2 separate regions of the Homo sapiens genome follow, and region 2 is linked to region 1. Evidence: promoter capture Hi-C in 16 types of primary human blood cells and fetal thymus (Javierre and others, 2016). All regions are on one chromosome and are shown on one strand. Each heading gives the region's core, a stretch centred on a gene start or on the middle of the fragment in contact. The rest is flanking DNA. Distances are from core to core; before and after follow the strand shown. Region 1 holds the start of DLK2 (delta like non-canonical Notch ligand 2). Region 2 has its middle 6.4 kb from the start of SCIRT.

The links. Contacts are between HindIII fragments. The CHiCAGO score rates a contact against its expected background, and 5 or more counts as called.
Region 2: a contact is called between a fragment that was not itself captured here and the fragment with the promoter of DLK2 in region 1, in 1 of 17 cell types (M0 macrophages). The highest score is 8.4, in M0 macrophages.

Annotation. Positions count from the first base shown.
Region 1 is chr6:43,452,601-43,457,687 of GRCh38, reverse strand. It overlaps DLK2 (delta like non-canonical Notch ligand 2), which reads left to right and starts at 2,140. Exons shown (of 6, transcript NM_023932.4): 1 at 2,140-2,293; 2 at 2,808-2,938; 3 at 3,214-3,277; 4 at 4,553-4,683. The coding sequence starts at 2,863. RefSeq lists enhancers at 642-1,483, 3,112-3,161 and silencers at 2,082-2,321, 2,422-2,471, 2,502-2,581. The HindIII fragment of the contact is 6,033 bases long and covers 1-3,529 here.
Region 2 is chr6:44,078,530-44,083,616 of GRCh38, reverse strand. No RefSeq gene overlaps it. Among named protein-coding and RNA genes, the nearest start is that of SCIRT, 6.4 kb to the right of the region's middle. The HindIII fragment of the contact is 475 bases long and covers 1,928-2,402 here.

The DNA.
Region 1 (5,087 bases), core at 891-3,390:
AAAAAAAAAAAAAAAGGGGCGGGCGCGGTGGCTCACGCCTGTAATCCCAGCACTTTGGGAGGTCGAGGCGGGCGGATCACGAGGTCAGGAAATCAAGACCATCCTGGCTACCATGGTGAAACCCCGTCTTTACTAAAAATACAAAAAAAAATTAGCCGGGCGGGGTGGTGGGCGCCTGTAGTCCCAGCTACTTGGGACGTTGAGGCAGGAGAATGGCGTGAACCTGGGAGGCGGAGCTTGCAGAGAGCCGAGATAGCGCCACTGCACTCCAGCTTGGGCCACAAAGCGAGACTCCGTCTCAAAAAAAAAAAAAAAAAAAAAAAAAAAAGTGTTAATGCTGAAAAGTATTAATAAGAAAAAAAAAAAAACCTCTATAATTCGATCATCCAGAGAAAAGCACTGCCAATGTCAAAGTACGTTCTTCTTTGTTTCCGGCTTCCCCCCACCGCACTTTACATATTCTTAGCTTTTTTGGACATCTTTAGACGTCAAAAAAAAAAAAAAGTATTTTTAACAGTCACATAGTGTTGATGTGCCATAATTTATTTGCCTACAGTAATTTTTGAATTATAGGTTGTTTGCAATTTTTCACCAAAAAAAAAAATGTGTTTAAACAAAATGAATGGTACAGCCATGTCATTACTCAAATTCAGAGAGCTCTTCAGGGAAGAGGCGATCACAGCTGAGAGGAGGCCAGCTAGGGAGCTGAGTGGGTGTAAGTGTTATATCCAATGGAGACTGCAGGAAAAATGAGCCCTGGGGCTCTGTGCCTGTGGAGGTGGCTGTGTGAAGGTGGGAAGCTGCTCTGCCCCGACTAGCGACTGCTCCTTCCGATGTTTTGAATTTAAAGATGGTGAAATCTCAATCTGAAGGACTAGAGATGGGCGCTAGCGTTCCTGACCTCTGCCCTGTTGTCCTGCACAAACTAGAAATTATGTTCTGGGTCCTTGTCTTTTTTTGGGGGGGGGCGGGGGTCGGAGTTTTGCTCTGTCCCCCAAGCTGGAGTGCAGTGGCGCGATCTTGGCTAACTGCAACGTCTGCCTCCCGGGTTTTCAAGCGATTTTCCTGCCTCAGCCTTCCGAGTAGCTGGGATTACAGGCGCGCACCACCACGCCTGGCTAATTTCTGTATTTTTAATAGAGACGGGTTTCACCATGTTGGCCAGGCTGGTCTCGAACTCCTGACCTCAGGTGATCCGCCCGCCTCAGCCTCCCAAAGTGCTGGAATTATAGGCGTGAGCCCACCGAGCTTGGCTGGGTCCTTGTCTTGAAATGTGTCTCTGAGCCATTAGCCAGAAGGGGGCAAAGAGGCCTGGAGGGCAGCTTTCCCCCACTCCCCCTCCGTTACTCTCTGAATCTGAGCTCCAGGTTTGGGCAGTTGAGGTTTAGCCTGAGGCCAAGGACGAACGTGATGGGGTACAGGAGAAGACTTGGCGGTGGAGGGGGTTTTGTGTGCACATTTACAGAGTCAGGGGCATTCCCAGTCCAGAAAGGATTCTCAGAGGCAGTCACAAAAAGGAATGGGGTGGAAGGGCTGAGACTTGAGGGAGGGAAGGGTGGTGGGGGTAGGGCCGGGGTGTGGTTGGGTGGATCGGGTTGATATTTATATAGGGATAGGTTGATCTTGGAAGGCTGGAGACGGCAACGTGGACAGGAAGAAGCGGAGGGCGAGGAGGAGCAGAGGAGCACACAGATGAAGCAGGTGATGAAGGCTTTACAAGCGGGGAGGCGTGGGCTGGTGACAGGCGGAGGGCGGGGAGCGATTGCCTGCGTGTGCATAGATCTATATGAGAAGCGTGATGAGCGGCGGACAAGCGAAGGCAGGGCTGGGGCGTGGGCCGCGGAGCGCTGGTCGGGAAAGTGGGCATGGGAGATGAGAGAATAACGGGGTTGCGCTCCTTTGGCTTAATAGTTTGCTCCCATTGAGACTCCTAAGATTTCCTCCTCTCTTGGAAGGAAGCTGGGTTCGGGGCGTTGGGTAGCCGCGGAGGGCCGGGGCCCCGGGGCGCGCCGGGTGCTAGGTGTGCGCCGTGCGTCGCGGGGGGGGGGATGGGGGTGGGGGCGGGCTCCGCCCCTGGCAGGGGGCCTGAGCGCGCGCGAGGAGCAGCCGCTGCCGCCGCTCGGGGTCGCCTGGAGCCCCAGATTCCCGAGCGCTCGGCTCGCATGGCAGCCGCTTCGGCGCCCGGCCCCGCGGCCAGCTAGGGGCGGCCCCGCGCTCCCTCACGGCCCCTCGGCGGCGCCCGTCGGATCCGGCCTCTCTCTGCGCCCCGGGGCGCGCCACCTCCCCGCCGGAGGTGAGGACTGCGGGGACAGGGCGCGGTGGGGATTCCAGGCCCCGCGCCGCCGCCGAACCCAGCGCGGCGGAGATAGAAAGGGGACGTGGGAGAGAGTGGTGGTGGCGGGGGGGGGGGCTGTCGGAGCTGTGGGGCGGAGACTGCTCGCTGCCGGGAACCGTCCTTCCCTCCGGCCCCCGCGTCCCCTCCGTGCTCGAGGCCGCCTCTCGGCGCTGTCCCCATCCCGCGGACCCCTCCGTCCTGACTACGATCCCAACCCCAGCCATTCCCGCGCCTGGCCTCGCTCCGCGATGCCCATCTTTCCCCTCCTTGCAGACCCCGCTCCCGGGTTCCTGTCTTCGCTCTCCTCGCTCTCTTCGCCTGCTCAACCCTTCCCTGCCCCCATCCTCCCGCTACCCCCATCCCCTTCTTCTGTCCCGGCGCCCCTCTCCCTCGTCGGCTCCTGTCACTTGGAACCCGTATCCGTGCCGCTATCTCCGCGTCCGGCCGCCTCCCAACCGGTGCCGTCCCACAGGTGTCCACGCGTCCGGCCGTCCATCCGTCCGTCCCTCCTGGGGCCGGCGCTGACCATGCCCAGCGGCTGCCGCTGCCTGCATCTCGTGTGCCTGTTGTGCATTCTGGGGGCTCCCGGTCAGCCTGTCCGAGGTGAGCGCGCCCGCTGGGCTCCAGTCGCGGCCCTGTCCAGCCGTCCTCGCTTGCACGTTGACCTCTGCCGGCCGGAGGCGGCACTGCAGTCGCTCCGACCCGCGGGGCAAGCAAGACCGAGGTTGCCTTTTTGGAATGGGATGAGTTTCTGTGTTATGTCCTGCCCTAGGGTTGAGTCCGCTCAGTTACTGGAACCCCAATCCTCTCCTGAGTCCCGCATCCCAGCGAGCTGTGCCCTGACTCAGACTCACCCCTCCCACATCAATCTCTTGCAGCCGATGACTGCAGCTCCCACTGTGACCTGGCCCACGGCTGCTGTGCACCTGACGGCTCCTGCAGGTACCTGTCCTGAGCACGTGCCCCCAAACCCTTTGGTACCCATTTCTAAGCCCTTCACGTGCACAACAGTGTCTAGGGGCTTCAGACTCTACTCTTCATGCCTCATCACTCCTATGGCTGACTGGCCAGTCCCCCTTTCCCCTTTACCTCACCTCTCTTGCTTCTTCTAGTTTTTATCTCCCCACTTCTTTAATCTCCCAAGTCTGATCCAGGGATTGTCTGAACTCCTGACAGGGAGAGAGACCTAAAGCTTGAGAGAGCTTGGGGATTGGGTGCCATGAGGAAATGGAAAGATAAAGGAAAAAGGGAAAGAGAAATGGTTTAGCCTGGAAAAGAAATGCTGCAGGGAGAGTTGCTGGGGAGAAACACTTACAATGAAAGAGGATCTTTCTTGATGAGTTTGAGTAGTTGACTCACTGGGAGATTGGGCAAATTCTGTAGCAGGAGGAAAGTGGACATAAGGAAATGAGTTGATGAGGCAGGTAGTTCAATTGGCTGGGGGTCTTTGAGACTCTTCACCCCTGGAGGGCTTTTAAAATATGGGTCAAGTGTTTGCCCTGGAATCATGGTGGGAGGATAGTCCTGATGACCTTTTTTGTTTTTATTTTTATTTTTTGTTTTTGAGACAGAGTCTCGCTTTGTTGCCAAGGCTGGAGTGCAGTGGCGCGATCTCAGCTCACTGCAGCCTCTGCCTCTTGTGTTCAAGTTCCCCTGCCTCAGCCTCCTCAATAATGGATTACAGATGCACACCACCATGCCCGGGTAATTTTTTGTATTTTTTGTAGAGACGGGGTTTCACCCAGTTGGCCAGGCTGGTCTTGAACTCCTGACCTCAAGTGATCCACCTGCCTCGACCTCCCAAAGTGCTGGGATTACAGGCGTGAGCAACCACGCCCCGGCCCTGATGGCCTTTCAAGGTCATTCTTCTTTAAATGTTTGTGAGCACCTCAGACATGCCAGGAGGGGTACTGGAGGCATTTACAGACATCTTATTTCTTCCTCTACTCAACCCTGCAAGGTGTATCCCCAATTTACAGGTGAGAAAACTGAGGCTCAGGTTAAAGTACAGAACCAGGGTTTGAGTGCTGGTGTCTGATGGTCTGATTCCGTATATGTGTCCTATGACCCTGCACAGTCCTACACCTACCTGGGACAGGTCTGCTTTCCCTTAGGGGCTGTCATATGTCCTCTTGGTTTCTAGAAGCTCTGGTTCTGTCTCCTCCATTTCTTCACATCCATGACCCAGAGCCCTGACCCTGTGCTTCTCCCCGTCAGGTGTGACCCGGGCTGGGAGGGGCTGCACTGTGAGCGCTGTGTGAGGATGCCTGGCTGCCAGCACGGTACCTGCCACCAGCCATGGCAGTGCATCTGCCACAGTGGCTGGGCAGGCAAGTTCTGTGACAAAGGTAGGGGGGAGGAAGGGTAGCTTTTGGTTGGGAACCCCATGTTCTTAGGGGAACAGCCATCAGTATTTATTGAGTGCCTATTTTGTCCTTGTCAAACCCTCAAATACATGGTATTTTATCATTTTTTTAAATCTTAGACTTTTTATATGTTGTCTGAATTGATCCTCAACATAACCCCATGGGGCAGGAAACACAGCTGCTAAAAATTGTACTCATTTTACAGATGAGGAAACTAAGGCCCACAGAAGAGCTATAACCTGCTCAAAGTCAGGTTTTTTTGTTTGTTTTGTTTTGAGATGGAGTCTCACTCTGTCACCCAGGCTGGAGTGCAGTGGTGCGATCTCGGCTCACTGTAACCTCCGCCTCCTGGGTTCAAGTGATTCTCGTGCCTCAGCCTCCCCAGT
Region 2 (5,087 bases), core at 916-3,415, 630 kb before region 1:
TGGCAGGGCCAGGATCCAAACCCAGTGCTGCCTGCTCTAGAGCCCATTTCCTAATCTCTTCCCAGGTCACACGGGTCTTCTCTTTCTTAAATTCCAACTACCCAGTTAGCACTCCTCGGCCAAGCCCTCTCCATGCATCTCTATTACCTCTACCCTTCCCAGATTCACCCCCTTTCCTGCTGGAGCCCTGCTGGCCCCACCTCAGCCTCTGCTTGTTTCTCTGCATCTCCTCAGAGTATGCCCACTCTCCCCAGGACTCCAGCAGGGGCTGGGTGCCCACAGGAAGCTGGGGGGCTCCCTGAGGCTTCTCATTAAACCCTACCTTGCATGGACACTGACTCCGCAGAGGGTTTGGGTGGGGTCTCACATCCCTCACATCCCGGAGAGTTATCATCCTTCCTGAGGTTGAACAGGGTCAGCTATGGAGAAAGTCACCTTCTAGAGCCCAGCAGGCCTGAGGTTCTGGGCCCTGGCAGCTGGTCTGGCACGTGCCTGACATGGCCAGCCTGAAGGGTACGTGTCTGTCCTGCTGGAAGCTGCTGGGTTATCAGAGGGGAATGAAGGGGGTGGGACACATCTCCTGGGACGTGCAGGGACTCATGCATGCATGTGTGTGCGTGCGTGTGTGTCTGCATGTGCAGCTGTGCCAGCCAAGGGCATTGTGAGCCTGGCCCCGAGGAGGGGTGGGGGGTTCTGTGGGCAACACTTGACACCTGTGCATTTAGCAAAATCAGCACAGCACTGAGACCAGCAGGCCTCTGATCCATCTTCACTGTTATTATTTTTATAATTAGGGGCCAAAATCAAATTTTCATTCCCCCGGGGGAAATCCTGTTTCCACATGAAACCCAAGCTGGTGGAGGGCTGGGAGTGGGTGTGTAAAATGAATCTGGGGCTGGGAGCTTAGCTGCCTGGGCCAAGTCCTGGCCCTACCTTTCTTCCAGCTGCAAGACCATTTCACCTGCTCAGCCTCAGCTTCCCATCTGCCAGTGAGGGACAACCTGTCTGGAATGGTGGCTGAGTCTGAAATGAACATCACCTGGTGATGTGCAAGCCAGGTGAGAATGCCACCGTGCAACATAAAAGTGGGTGGCCGTTGCTGATCAGCACCTTTTACTTCCACTTAGCACCATGTTAGGCCCAGGAGAGGAAATGGATGGACCCTTGACTCTATTTGGTAAGGATTTAGTCTGTGCCTTGAGAATGGATTGGGTTGCCTGGGCTGCGGAGATGTAGAAGATAGTTGGGCAAGGTTCATTGGATGGATGACTGAATGACTAAATATATGAAGAGATGCCTGTTTCTGCAGTGTTGAGAAGTTCAGTGCCTCCCAACTGGGAGGCACGAGGGACTGGACCAGATGACCTTAAATTTTTTTTTTTTAATATTAAAAAAATACACAGAGAGACAAGGTTTTGCTATGTTGCCCAGGCTGGTCTTCGACTCCTGGCCTTGAGCAATCCTCCAGCCTCAGTTTCACCAAAGTGTTGAGACGACAGGTGTGAGCCACCATGCTCATCCCAGATGACATTTGAAGCGGCTTTCCACTGAAGGTCCTTCCCAGGTTCTGTGACTTGAGCTGAGTTCTGCCCCCTTTCCAAGAGCCCCTGCTTATCCCCAGGCCTCCCTGTGATTGGTGCTGGGTTGGGCACAGGACCTTTTTGTCCCACATGGTCCTGCCCACAACGGTTCCCAGGTTAAGGTATGGGGAGAGCCCATGGCCAGGAGAACTGAGGCCCATGCGGGACCTACATGATGAGTCAGAGTGAGGCTGGGGGAGAGGACAGCCTTCGAGAGCCAAGGCTGTGTTGTGGGAGGGAAGTATTGCCAGCTTTTTGGGGGTTAGCCGGGAAGGCTTCCTGGAATTGGCGTTGATTCTCAACGTGGGAGCCACTAGGTTGGCCCCTAGTCCCAGCCGTCACAAGCTTGTGTGGACTAGTATGCATCTGCCTTCTGCTTACCTTGCCATGTCTAGCCCATGACCCTGGAGGGCAAGAGGGAGGGGTGTCCTGCTGCGGGGCAGAGGGATTCTGGCCTAGGTGTGTGTGGGAACTCCTGAGGCTGCAGGCTTCAGTTTTTGCCGGCTCACTGAAGCAGTCTCTGGGGAAGCCGGGGCTTCTGGGAGTGGTTCTGGTGCTGCGTGGTCTTGGCTAGTTTTCATCTCTTGGAATATTTCCTCCCCTGCAAAATGAGTGGCTGGCAAAGGTGATCATCCAAATCCCCCTGCACTGGGATTCATGGCAGGAGTCTGCGGGGGGACACCTGGACAACCCAGGATGAGACCCTGTGCCCTGGGGTGAGCTGGATGACAGGCTCAGGGAGTCATGGGGGCAGGGGGGTTCTCTCTGTGCAGCTGCCTCCTGGAGGGCCTTTTGGGGGCTAAAAGTACCACCCTGCAAGCTTCCCTCCCTGGCTTCTGCCCCCCTCCCCTGCCCCATTTTGTCCCCTTTGTTACATTCCACAGTGGAAAGCGATCCCTCTCTCAAGGCCTGAGGATTACAGTCAGGAGAAAAGCCTGGGTCGCCCTGGGAACACTCACGTAGCCTTTTCCCACCGGTGCCCTCCTCCTCCTGACAAAGGCTGGGGTAGGGGGATGATCCTGATGCACCCCAGCCTGAGGGAGCAGTAGGGTCTCTGGGGTTGGGGGGCTGGTCAGCCTTTCCCTCCCTCCCTGGGGTTCAGCAACCCCAGGGAGGGAGTGAACTGTGTTGAGAAGCCCCCAGTGGGCCCTCTCAGGATGCAATTGGGGCCTAGGTCCTGGGTTTCCATGTGCCTGGGCTCCCCCTGCCCCCTCACTTCTGCCCTGAACCCTCCCGCAGGCTGCAGTGCCACTCCCCATCCCTACTAAGCTGGGGATTTCCGCAGGCTGAGCCAACCGCCTGACCCTAATTATGGCGCCTTCATCCTGTTGAGGTTAAGCTCCCTATGACTTTCTCTCCCCCCACCCCAGAGGCCAGGCTGGGGGTCAGAGACTCAAGAGTCTCAAGCCTACTGTGCCCCCTCTGGAAAGGGTTGATGGGCCTGTGTCCCCTTGGGTGGTTGGGAGGCAGCTTCTTGTGGGTCTGGGTAGACAAGCTAAGATAGTTTCTCTGGGCCGGGTGCGGTGGCTCACGCCTGTAATCCCAGCACTTTGGAAGGCTGAGGCAGGCGGATCATGAGGTCAAGAGATTGAGACCATCCTGGCTAACACGGTGAGACCCCGCCTCTACTAAAAAAAAACAAAAAAAATTAGCCACGTGTGGTGGCAGGCACCTGTAGTCTCAGCTACTCAGGAGGCTGAGGGAGGAGAATGGCGTGAACCCGGGAGGCGGAGCTTGCAGTGAGCTGAGATTGCGCTACTGCACTCCAGCCTGGGCAACAGAGCGAGACTCCGTCTCAAAAAAAAAAAAAAGTTTATCTGGAGAGCCCTTAGGACAGAGGGGAGCCCTGGGGAGCTGACCTCTAGAGGGCTGGGAAGTCTGAAGATGGGGAACTCCTAGAGGACCCATTCTCAACCCTGGCTGCCTATAGAATCACCTAGAAATATTTTCTTAAAATTACCTTTGTCTTAGCCAACCCCTACCAATTTTGATTTCCTTAGTCAGGGCTGGGCAAACATGGGTATTTGAAAAATCCTCCCAGTGATTCCCATGTACAGCCAATCTGAGAATCCTGCTCTGTCCTCCGCCCCATGATGCCATCGAGGAGGCTGAGGCTCAGTGAGCAGAGGCCCTTGATGGAGGCCACCCCACTAGTTGGGGCAAGGTCGGGTCAGAATCTGAGGCTTCTAACCCCATGGCAGGCTCCTTCCTATAGGCCTCTTCTGTCCCCCAGGGGCTGGTCTGGTGTCCCACTGAGTGTCACCTGTATTCATTTCACCATTTGGGCACTGAGGAGCTGTGTGACCCTTGGCAAGTTGCTTAACCTTGGTTTCTTCTTTGTGATAATGGGCTCCAGTGATAAGAATTGGACAAAATGATGCCTGCAAAGTGTTCAGTGGCACTTGAGGGAAGAGTAGCCACTGTCCTGCTTTTTGCCTGGGGCAGGCCTGGTGCTGCAGGATCTGGGCAGAGGCCTCCTTGATCGTCCCCACCCATCAGGCAAGTGAAGCCCTTAGAGGTGGAACTTCGGAGGGTGGAGTCCCCGGGGAGTGGCCACCCCTGAGGCTCCCCAGGGCCCTGACAGGGAGTTGGGAGGTGTAGGGAAAGTGTGAAGAATGGCTTCCTTGCACACTCGACTTCATGCACTTCCAGGTGGCGGTGACAATGGTCAGGATTCTGCAGTTATATGAATGGCCACCAGGAGTCACCCTCAGCTCATGCTTGAAGTGAAGGCAGCACAGAAAAAGGGAAAGGAGCTGTAAGGGAGAAAAGGAGGAGGACACCCCACCACAGAGTGGATGAGCCTGGAGGGGACCCAAGGCTGCCAGAGTGGCTGCTTCATTTCTGCAGGAAGGTGCAGGACAGAACTCAGACTGGTGGGCACCGTGCCAGCAGGCAGAGGAGGGAGCAAAGGCTCATTTGTCTGCCTTCGGAATTCTCCTTCCCATGCTGATGTCAAATCACAATTCAACAGATTCTTCATGGGGCACCTGCTGCACACAGAGGGACAGGAATCTTACTGAACACCTAGTATATGCCAGAGCCTACACACACAGTGGGCTACTCAACATTCACAACAACTCTGTACAGTAAGTACAAATATTGGTCCCAAGATACAGATTGGGAAACTGAGGCTTATACCAGTTATGTGTTGTGCCCAAGGTCACCAAGCTGGATGAGGACTGACGCCTGTCTGGAGCCTAAATTCTTTCTCCTACACCAGATTGACTTCCAGAGAGTTCTAGGATACAAAGCTGGCAACAGACTTTCTGCCACGTAGAGGGATATGGCAGGTGACAACCCTGTCTGGCTCTGCTAATCAGGATCCAGTAAGAAGCTCAAGACAGGTGGCCACTCTGCTGGTAGGCAGAGGAGGGAGCTGTGCTCCCTGGGGTGGGTAGAAGTAAGGTTTGTGTGGGTGCTGGGTGTTGGACACGGGCAGGCTGCAGACATAGCAGCAATGAGGGGAGACTCTCTCAACCTGCCCATGTCCTCCTCTGAGCAATC